3 separate regions of the Homo sapiens genome follow, and regions 1 and 3 are each linked to region 2. The links are contacts of gene promoters, found by promoter capture Hi-C in blood cells and fetal thymus (Javierre and others, 2016). All regions are on one chromosome and are shown on one strand. Each heading gives the region's core, a stretch centred on a gene start or on the middle of the fragment in contact. The rest is flanking DNA. Distances are from core to core; before and after follow the strand shown. Region 1 overlaps LOC124904665 (a long non-coding RNA gene). Region 2 holds the start of ZNF101 (zinc finger protein 101). Region 3 has its middle 62 kb from the start of ZNF93.

The links. Contacts are between HindIII fragments. The CHiCAGO score rates a contact against its expected background, and 5 or more counts as called.
Region 1: a contact is called between a fragment that was not itself captured here and the fragment with the promoter of ZNF101 in region 2, in 1 of 17 cell types (non-activated CD4 T cells). The highest score is 5.9, in non-activated CD4 T cells.
Region 3: a contact is called between a fragment that was not itself captured here and the fragment with the promoter of ZNF101 in region 2, in 4 of 17 cell types (M2 macrophages, total CD4 T cells, total B cells and 1 more). The highest score is 6.4, in M2 macrophages.

The regions. Positions count from the first base shown.
Region 1 is chr19:19,937,008-19,940,837 of GRCh38, forward strand. LOC124904665 (a long non-coding RNA gene) reads right to left here. Exons shown (of 3, transcript XR_007067170.1): 1 at 2,728-3,830; 2 at 2,559-2,655; 3 at 1,511-1,676. Among named protein-coding and RNA genes, the nearest start is that of ZNF93, 38 kb to the left of the region's middle. The HindIII fragment of the contact is 1,208 bases long and covers 1,582-2,789 here.
Region 2 is chr19:19,666,586-19,670,269 of GRCh38, forward strand. ZNF101 (zinc finger protein 101) reads left to right here and starts at 2,254. Exons shown (of 4, transcript NM_033204.4): 1 at 2,254-2,381. The coding sequence starts at 2,379. RefSeq lists enhancers at 1,943-2,509, 2,510-3,075 and a silencer at 2,464-2,663. The HindIII fragment of the contact is 10,038 bases long and covers 529-3,684 here.
Region 3 is chr19:19,961,222-19,964,841 of GRCh38, forward strand. It overlaps the pseudogene BNIP3P12. Among named protein-coding and RNA genes, the nearest start is that of ZNF93, 62 kb to the left of the region's middle. The HindIII fragment of the contact is 4,095 bases long and covers 1-3,620 here.

The DNA.
Region 1 (3,830 bases), core at 936-3,435, 270 kb after region 2:
TCCTTTGGAATACAACTTCCAAATTAGATTTTAAGAACTGGTTTTCTCTTTGACTTTGAGACTTCTTACCTGTGTTTTCCGTTGTATTCATTTTCACTCATACCTACCTGGGGGGTTGGCAATCATCTCATGTCTCTTCAGAGCCAAAGGTTTTTTTCCCTGCTCCAGATGAGTGATCAGGTCTGGCTTAGAGACAACAATACTGTTGTATTAAGAATAAATAACATGAATCGTGCTCATATTCTCCAATTACAAGCTAGTAATGTGTTCAGTAGAGAGGATGTGATAAAATATTCTAGTAAATTAATTACAAAATACTAATCTATAACAAATTTCTAAATATTTAGAAAATGCTTTCAATTTGTAGGTTTCTTAATTTTACTATCTAATACTACTGAATCAAAAATTGGTGGCAATTAGATTTTCAGGTGGGGGCAAGAATACTTTGTCACTAAATTTTTGGAATTACCACTAATTTAGAGTGAATTATACAGCTCAAATCAGGAATGTGGAAAGTTTGGATTAAGATGAAACATCTTGAAGAGACTTTTCTGCATGAGCAAATTTTGAAGATTTTCTGAAAAAAGGGGATCTGAAACTCTTTTATGCAAAGAATAGATTACTAAAAAGTTCTACATAAAAGAGAAATAAAACCTTTAGGGTATATTATGAATTATGTCTTAAAGTTATCCTCAACAAGAAAGACCATATTTCCATAGTTCTCTAACATCACATTCGTATACAACTTCCGCTGTACAGTGTCCAGGCAATGCCACTCCTCCAGAGATAATTCTATGGCCACATCTCTAAATTGCAATGGTCCCTGAAGAACACACACATTTTTACCAAGTGGCCAGGTGTGGAATTTTTAATTTGACTTAAGGTGAAATGAGAGAGTAAAGAGAAGTGGTTCTGACTTATAGCACTGACTAAAATTATCCAATAAAATAATTTTCAAAACAGAAATATTATTCTCTAACTATGATAAAAAAAAAAAAGCACCATAAGATCCAGAACAACAGTTCATATATTTTATTTTTCTAGATAATAAAGTATAAAATTAAGGGCATGAACACGAACATGTACATTTTTGAGTGCTATATTTACATCATACGGAATGAGTTGTGAATATTTTTCAGATGGAAAAGACATTCACTTAGGCATTTCTCAAATTTATTATGTACAATAAGCTGAAGACCTTATGCAGGTTTTTTTTTTTTTCCAAGAAGATCTGGAGTAAGTCTGATTTACGTATTTATTTCCTTTTCTTTTTTATTTGAGACGGAGTTTCATGCTTGTTGCCCAGGCTTCTGTGCAGTGGCATCATCTTGGCTCACGGCAGTGTCCCCCTCCTGGGTTCAAGCAATTCTCCTGCCTCAGCCTCCTGAGTAGTTGAGATTACAGGCATGTGCCTCCACGCCCAGCTATTTTTGTATTTTTAGTAGAGACAGGGTATTCTCCATGTTGGTCAGGCTGGTCTCAAACTCCCAACCTCAGGTGATCTGCCTGCCTTGGCCTCCCAAAATGCTGTGATTACAGGCATGAGCCAGGGCTCCCCGCTGATTTTTTGAATTTCTAACAAGCTTACCAGTAATGCTAACGTTTTTGGCCTAATAAGGATATTTTGTCAAAGATCCAGTAAGTGGTAGAGCCTGTGTTTTCCCAGTTTTTCTAGCCTGTAAACAAAGATAAGAGCCTTCATTTTCTAAAGAAAAATATGTAGAAAAAATAAAAGGAGAACTGCCAGATTAAATGTGATCACTTGTGTAGAGCAGCTGCATAAAGATAATTATGAAGAGAAAAATAGTTATCTCTACAGTGAAAAAAATCAATCAGCTATTTCACCAAGTGAATCATTAACCATTAACTGCACTAGGACAAATTTTTATGATGTGCTACTGCACACAGAAGAACACAGCATCACTGTTGAAATATTCCTCCCCAAAACAGTAAACTAGTCTGAATTTAACCATAAACAACAGTTTATGCAAACTTCAAAATACAGGTAACTCCTATGTTCTGTAATTTTTAGTAGGAATTTTAATTAGGCTTCATTTAGCACCCTAGAGAGCAAGTATCTCCTAATAATTTTTTTCAGAACTTTCTGGGTAATAAATGCCATTCCATTTAAATCAGCATTTTCTTAATCCTCTTCTGCATAGAGCTAATGGAACACACAGCTGGAGCCTCAACATTACATGTTCTCCATCTTTACTAAGGGCCACAGTTTTCCCCAATAGAAACCTTGAGTATCCACATCTTTCCATGTTCAACAGCCACAAAGGGAACATTTTTAATATTGCAGGTCATAAATTCTTGCGGAGCATTCTGCATGGCATATAAGAAGCTATGACGTACAGAATGTAGAGAAGTCTGTGGGACATAGGACAGAAACGTTTTCCAGAGACCCTTGACTATCATAAGAATTTTAAGAAGTAGTTAAACCAAACTCCTTAGGGAGGAAAAACACAAGTAGAGAAGTAAAGGTTTGTGAGTACTAAACGCATGGCAGTCCAGGAGGCAGAGTGGACACAGCTCTTCATCTGACACATGTTTACCTGAAGAAAAGCCATTTTTTTCTTTCTCCTCCTCCTCTGGAATTCCTTCTCAGATGAGATTCTCTGGACAAGTTACACCTGCATATGGAGAATATGCCTTTAAAGGTGTCAGTACCACATTTACCTGCTAGTATGACATCAACTGGCAGAAAAAGAAAAATTCACTTACTGCTGTCTTTTAAACAGAATAGATTCAGGAATAATGAGCTGCTCCATGAAGACAAAAATATAAGCTTCTCCTTTCCTGTCCTCAGGTGCCCTCCCCTGCCAGAGACTCCAGCAATTTCTGCTACAGTAATGGAAATATGCACCACACTGACCTGTCCCTACCAAACCCAAACAGAACAGGCCCTGTGACCACCCTTTAGTGCAAAGGTGGAACTTAACTCTCGAAAATGTATTTTGAAGCCTTCATACTTGATTCTGGCCTCACCTTAGAGTCACATGAGGCCCTTCATTAAAACAACATGGATCCTTCCACCCAGAACAATAAACAGAAGCTGTGGGGAGGGCACAAGTATAAATCACTTGGTAATTTTGGTCCCACATTATGTAAGGTGATTCTGCAGGTTTGAAAAGGGTTTATGAAAGAGTGTTTTAAACAAGTCTCCTGTCAATGCTGATGTTGCTCCCCCTTGGCTCATTATTAGCATTAGAGAAAGCAGGCAGAGCACAGGGTCCCTTACACTTAACACCCTTCTCACAACCAAATACTTGTCGTGCAAATAAGGACAACCCATCTCCATCCTAAAGTTTTATATTCTTTGCTGGCTCTTTAAGTTTATAGAGGAAACAGAAGGCAGCAATGTTTGAATAAGTCTGGGTTTAAAAAACAACATGTACACATGTACTACTGCAATGTTTATTAAGCAAGTACTATGTGCTCAAGAGTATGATACAGAGCACTGTGCTGGGCATAACACATTATGTGATTTAATTCTCATAATACCCTGGGAGCTAGTACTAAGGGTTTAGGAATTTTCAGGATTTAGATAAAGGGCCCAGCATTTTTATTCTTCTGTTTCTCTGTCATCAAATTTTTTAAAAAGTTGTAAGAAATAAAAGCTAAATATAGACAGATAGAAAAGATATAGAAAGGATGAGTTTAATGCAGTTTAGAGAAAATTTTATTCTGTTTATGTTTACTTTTTTGTTACTTGGGGAGCAATTACTGGATCTGCAGGAATAGAAAACAAGTTGCTAAATAGAATGTCTCTGCAAGCACTGGTTTTAATAGAAAACTTAAAAGCTAAGACTCTATAATACATACTT
Region 2 (3,684 bases), core at 1,004-3,503:
GAGCCACCGGGCCCGGCTCTGGTTTTTTTTTTTTTTTTTTTTTTTTTTTTTTTTTTTTTTTTTTTGAGATGGAGTCATGCTCTGTCGCCCAGGCGCAATGCTGTGATCTCGGCTCACTGCAACCTCCTCCTCCTGGGTTCAAGCAGTTCTCCTGCCTCAGCCTTCTTAGTAGCTAGGATTACAGGCATGCGCCACCACACCTGGCTAATTTTTGTAATTTTAGTAGAGACGGTGTTTCACCATGTTGGGCAGGCTGGTCTCCTACTCCTGACCTCATGATCCGCCTGCCTGGGCCTCCCAGAGTGCTGGGATTACAGGCTGAGCCACCGTGCCCGGCTGCATATTATTAAGATACATGACTTCGTAAAAGGAGAAAGGAAATGTAATAGGACTTAATAATCACATAGTATCAAATAAGATAATCTTCAGTAAAAATAGGAATGACATGTTTCTGTCCCATGATACAGTTCGATATACTTACTTTTTCAGTTTTTTCTCCAATATTAATTCTTTCCCATACAAGGTCCAAGCTTCTGCTCTTGGAGTCTGGGACTGGACCCCTTTCTGGTAGCAATACCTTTATAGAATGTTTACTCCAGGCCGGGCACGGTGGCTCATGCCTGTAATCCCAGCACTTTGGGAGGCCAAGGCGGGCAGATCACGAGTTCAGGAGATCGAGACCATCCTGGCTAACACGGTGAAACCCCGTCTCTACTAAAAATACAAAAAAAAAAAAAAAAAAAAAAAATTGGCCGGGCATGGTGGCACATGCCTGTAGTTCCAGCTACTCGGACTCGGGAGGCTGAGGCAAGAGAATCTCTTGAACCTGGGAGGCAGAGGTTGCAATGAGCTGAGATCGTGCCACTGCACTCCAGCCTGGGCGACAGAGCCAGACTCCGTCTCAAAAAAAAAGAAAAAAAAAGTGGTTTACTCCAGTTTTTCCCTGCATTTAATAATTTTGTTCCCTTTAAGGCATGTTTTTATTTTCTTGGCTGAAAAGGAGTAGCCTGAGAAGAAGTAACGTGTAGGAAGCCTTGGCCATGGGACCAATAGCCTCATAAATTCCTGATCTCTGGAGGACATCAGGGCCTCCTACCTGTTCCATTGTGACCTGGGAGTCTCTCCAGCTCCAAGGTGGAGGGATGGCTTCACTGAACACGGAGTCTGGAATTCCGTGCACACTCATGTGACCGGTGTTCCGGAAAAAGAAGCAGGAGGCGGCTGGGCGCGGTGGCTCACGCCTGTAATCCCAGCACTTTGAGAGGCCGAGGCCGGCGGATCACGAGATCAGGAGTTCGAGACCAGCCTGGCCAACATGGTGAAACCCCATTTCTACTAAAAATACAAAAATTAGCCGGGAGTGGTGGTGGGCGCCTGTAATCGCAGCTACCCGGGAGGCTGAGGCAGGAGAATCGCTTGAAACCGGAAAGCGGAGGTTGCAGTTAGCTGAGATCGTGCCATTGCATTCCAGCCTGGGCAACAAGAGCGAAACTCCGTCTCAAAAAAAAAAAAAAAAAGCAGCAGGAAGGACCCACTGAGTACAGGAAGCCGACAGGGCCTGCTCCGGAAAACCAGGAGCTGTAAGGTCAGCCGAAAGGACGAAGAGACCTGAAGTCAGTCAAGTAAGTTTTATTAACCTGCTGGGCTGCTCCCCCACAGTTAGAGGAGGCAGCCCCGCTTACAGACTACAGCAGGGCTTTATAGGGCGAGGAACTGGGCTGGGGTGTGAGAACTGAGTCGGGGGTGCAGGTGTCCTGACCGCATCCTGGAGATGTTTTTGCCAGCTTTGTTATGCAAGGTGGGCAGGTGTTGTGACCGCATCCTGGAACTGTCTGCCGGTTCAGCTGAAGTCTTTTGAACAAACAGTTACTGGAAGGGTCAGTGGGGAGGAGGTCTACTTCTAGCCCGGGGGGAGTTGTGTGGCGGTCACAAAGGACTGTATTGTAAGACTGATGGGGGAAGGAGGGGAACAGTCTGGTTGGGTTGACCCTAACGGGAGCAAGTTCTGCTTCCATGCAAGTCCAGGTCCAAGGTCCCAGCGAGGGGCTGTGGGTAGCACCTGTCAGTCACACCCCACACAGCGAGCGGATTATTTGAGGATTCCGATCACCTCTCCTGTCGCTCAAGCCCCAGGGGCGGGACCTGGGGCACCAGCCAGTCAGAGGCGCTGTGCGGCAAACTGTCCAATCAGGTGCGCCGGGAGGAGGGGCAACTTCCAAAGCCCGAAGCGGTCTCATTTCCCGCCGGCCCCCCATTCGGGTCCGGGTTTTAGTTCCTCGGGGAGCCCCTGGTGCCCCGGATACGGCTGATTTTGTCGTGTGGGACCTGTTCTGGCTGCTCCAGCCCCAGGAAGGACCCAGGACACCCGGAAGCCGGAAATGGTGAGCGTGCGGAGCCGGGCGTCCGGAGACCTGAGGAGGAGCTGGTCGGAACCGGCAGTGGCTGGACCTGGGCCTCCCCGCGGCGACTGTGGGGGTCTGGGACCCGAGTCCCCCAGGCGCAGCTCGACCCTTGGTCCCCTCGGTCGCCGGGTGGAGCTGGACCAGCCGCCGGGACCCCGGGTGTCCTGTCCCGGCCCCGGAGCCCTCTCAGGGCAGCTCCGCGCCCGCAGCCCCGCGTCTCCCCAGATCGTGCGGGGGCCTCAGGAGGGTCTTAGGGGGAATCCCGCCTCGGGTGTGGGGTTCGTGCGGGAGGAGCCGTGGCCTGTGGGGTCCCCAGTTCCTCCTCCCTTAGGCGGTCCCCGTTTCCTTCGGAGTCTTCCAAAGGTGTGGGAAGCTGGGTTTCAAACCCACGACCCCGTCCCCCAGCTTCGCTCCTCCCAGGGCTGCAGTAAATCCCTAAATTTCCCCGCATTCCCCAACCCTAAGTTCTCCCTCCAGTACATCCACTTCACATTATTATTATTATCATTATTTCTATTATTTTTGAGACGGAGTCTCACTCTGTCGCCCAGGCTGGAGTGCAGTGGCACTGTCTGGGCTCACTGCAGCCTCCGTCTTCCGGGTTCAAGTGATTCTCCTGCCTCAGCCTCCTGAGTAGCTGGAATTACAGGTGCCCGCCACCACGTCCGGCTAACTTGTATTTTCAGTAGAGACAGGTTCACCATGTTGGCCGTGCTGAAGTCCTGATCTCAGGTATCTGCCTGCCTCGGTCTCCCAAAGTGCTGGGATTACAGGCTTGAGCCACTGCGCCTGGCAAGACCCAGTGTTTTAACTGTCATCTTTTCCAAGGAGCCCTAGATGGCACTTCTTAAAAAGTTCATTTTCCGTTTGTGAACATTTCACATGCGAGCAAAGCAGAAAATAACCCCCTGACACTCCGATGTTAAAAAAAAAAAATCACTGTGCCTGCCCTCTTTTTACCTTCCCTAGGCGCGGCCACCTTATCAGACAGTCTTTGGGTGGAGGCTTCTCTTGGGAACTTCACAGGGTATTGGGTCCTCAGCCCACCCTCCTATCTTTCTGGTCCTGGGTTTCAGGACCGTCCAGGGACTTCTTCCAGCTGCCCTCGGAAGAACGGGTGAAAAGTCTGTCCTGGCGTGGTTAATCTTTCCTGGTTGTTTGATGAGCCTCCTAGGGAGGAGTTCTTGTCTTTTGAAAAGAAGTTTCCTTAGGAAATTCCAGAGGGATTCCCTGCTGGCCCTTGGGGGTGGGGTGGGGCCAGAAACAGTAGAAAGAAACTTCT
Region 3 (3,620 bases), core at 346-2,845, 290 kb after region 2:
ATTTCTGATGAAGGAAGGGGTGGGAGCAGCGAGTTAGCTGAACTAGTAGCCATCCTTCAAGCTATTCAGGAGGAAGGCAGAGGGATTTCTCACTTGTATACCAAATCTTGGTCAGTACCAAATGGTCTTTCTACCTGGAAGCCCCAATGACAATGAAACAAATGGTTAATTCAGAATAAAGAGGTTTGGGGACAACAATACTTGGAAGATATCTCAATCCATTGCACACTGCCATTATCACTGTTTCACTGTTATCACTGTTTCAACAAGGTTTCACCATGTTGGCCAGGATGGTCTCGATCTCCTGATCTCGTGATCCGCCCACCTCAGCCTCCCAAAGTGCTGGGATTACAGGCGTCAGCCACCATGTGGGGGAAAGAAAGAGAGATCAGACTGTTACTGTGTCTATGTAGAAAAAGGAAGACATAAGAAACTCCATTTTGATCTGTACTAAGAAAAATTCTTCTGTCTTAAGATACTGTTAATCTGTAACCCCAGCCCCAACCCTGTGCCCGCAGAAACATGTGCTGTATTGACTCAAGATTTAATGTATTTAGGGCTGTACAGGATGTGCTTTGTTAAAAATGTCTTTGCAGACAGTATGCTTGGTAAAAGTCATCGCCATTCTCCAGTCTCCCGTACCCAGGGACACAATGCACTGCGGAAAGCCGCAGGGACCTCATGCCCAAGAAAGCCTGGGTATCGTCCAAGGTTTCCCCCCACTGAGACAGCCTGAGATATGGCCTCATGGGAAGGGAAAGACCTGACCATCCCCCAGCCCGACACCCATAAAGGGTCTGTGCTGAGGAGGATTAGTGAAAGAGGAAGGCCTCTTTGCAGTTGAGATAAGAGGAAGGTATCTGTCTCCTGCTCATCGCTGGGAATGGAATGTCTCGGTGTAAAACCTGATCATACATTCTATTTACTGAGATAGGAGAAAATCACCTTATGGCTGGAGGTGAGACATGCTGGCGACAATACTGCTCTTTACGACACTGAGATGTTTGTGTAAAGTCAAACATAAATCTGTCCTACGTGCACATCAAGGCACAGCACCTTTCCTTAAACTTATTTATGACACAAAGTCCTTTGCTCACATGTTTTCCTGCTGACCCTCTCCCCACCATTACCCTGTAGTCGTACCACATCCCCCTCACTGAGATGAAAGAGATAGTGATCAATAAATACTGAGGGAACTTAGAGACCAGTGCCGGGTGCGGGTCCTCCGTATGCTGAGCGCCGGTCCCCTGGGTCCACCTTTCTTCCTCTATACTTTGTCTCTGTGTCTTATTTCTTTTCTCAGTCTCTCATCTCCACCTTGTGAGAAACACCCACAGGTGTGGAGGGGCAGGCCCCCTTCACCACCATGTGCAGCCCTGTTTTCCATGTTGATGCCCATGCATCTCTGCTTTCTCTTGACAGGCTATTTAATCAGCAGGAAGAAAAACAGGCCACAATTTCCACCATAACAGTAAACTTGAATGTGGATGAATAGATTACAATGTGTTCAAGCCTTGCAAAGAGAGGCATTATAGTGTATGGTGGTGTAATTGATAGTGATTACCAGGGAGAGTTAAAGGTCATTTTATACAATAACACTCCAGATTCTTTTGCTATAAAACTAGATGCTGGTTACTCAATTTTTAGTGGTACCCTTGTCAACAATTAACTCCTGAGGAAATCTCTGCCCCAACAGAGTCTACATACAGAACTGGGGGATTCAGATCCCCTGGTACAGGTAGCTTAAATCCTGGAGCCAAAATATGCATACAGCGTCCATCACATCTTGACCCTAAGGCTGGTGACCTTGTAGCTATGAAAGCGGGAAATGAAGGCATAGTACAATTTCCTAAAGATGAAAAATAAATCATGTTCCACTCCATTTTTGTTATTACAGGGAATAACCTATCTACTAATGGTCAGCACCTGTGTCTTTGTGTCTGAAGCCAAGAATAAATTCATCACCTGGGTAGCCACCGCTGCAACTGAAGCCATCCACAGTCAATGTTGGCTATATGTTGAGTTGCCGGAGGCTGCCTGGGATGGGCTATCTTGAAGAATCGTCCCTGACAACATTTCTGAATGGCTATATTGTTACCAGTAGGGCCACAACAACAACAACACTTGCAATCCAACCTGGGCTTCCTTTCACCACACTAAGCAATCTATCTTTGCCAGGTCAGACAAAAGATGAACTCCACCCTCACCTTGCATCAAAAGTCTTGATATCTTGCCCAATAATCCTGGAACAATATACACTGAAAACCTGCTGTGCTGGTGGCTGGATTCCATACAGGCTTCGCTTTTTCTGGAGGCCTTAAATGGCTCCTCTAATGTTTCTTTGGGGTTTCTTCAGACATTTGTCAACACATACTCCAAATCAACAACACTGCCCCCCAATGAACCACAATCTCTTTCCTATTTTAATAACACATTAGTACACTATGATTACAGTAGCTCCATTGCTGTCCCCTGGGGGGCCCTCTGGGTATGCAGATCCTATGGGTTGCAATACTGTCCCTGCATTGGATGGGAAGATGCACTTGAGGGTGGACATTAATTCCATTCACTATCCGGGATAATATTCCCTTCCCCAGTAATCTAGATGCTTACAAACACCACTGGTTACAAATGTGCTGGTCTCCCTGGTGGTGGTACCCTATCACAGTATTCTCCCCTGCCACCAGTACATTCCTCCTTCACCAACACATTAAAATATTTACCTTACATGTAGAAAAAGCTCTTAATGATAGTAGCACTGAACTTGTGTTGTTATCAGATGAATTTGCTCAGCTGCGTACTATTGTGTTGCAAAATCAAATGGCATTAAAAATGCTTACCGCAGCCCAAGGAGGGGTTTGCACGTTACTGCAAACTGAATGTTGTGTGTATATCTCTGGTAATTCTCACAATATGACTCTCCTTGGAAAGCCATGCTGAGTGTGGTTTTTATTAATTGTGCTTTTAATTCTCCTGTGTTACCCTGTATCTGTAATCTATATCAATTATGCCTTTTCCATGTATCTGAGAGGGTATTTTCCTACAATTGAGTATCCAATTGAGGCCAAATGTGGAGGGAAAGTTAAATATTAAATTTGAACTAAATTGAATGTGGACACAAATAATGGTCACCAAGTCCTGGCAGAGGTTGTGTGAGCCCCTTGAGGCGTTCATCCAGTGCTGTTTCAGAAAAAAATCTTTATTTCAATCTATTCCTATACGTTAGAAATTGAAAAACAATAGGCAATCCCAAAAACAAGTTGGCCTTTTTGTGTTCCTTGAGCCCAGTCACAAAGGGCCCTTGTGACTGAGCCTCATGCCAAACAACTTGTTACAAAAAGAGCTAGGGTCCAAGACCGCACCAAGGCTTCAAGAGACCTCTCCTCGTTTGTGCATGGACGGGTGACCGCCTCCGGAGCCCAGGCTGTTTCTTCCTGCTGTGGTGACAAATCCTCCATAGTATGGTGAGTGCGGTGTCTGACTCTGGAGCCCAGGCTGTCACTTCCCTGTCTGGTGACAAATCCTCCATAGTCTGATGAGTGTAAATATATATACATGTTTTTTCCCTTCTCCCCTTCCCATTGCAATTTGCTTATTATATCAATTTGCTTATTATATGT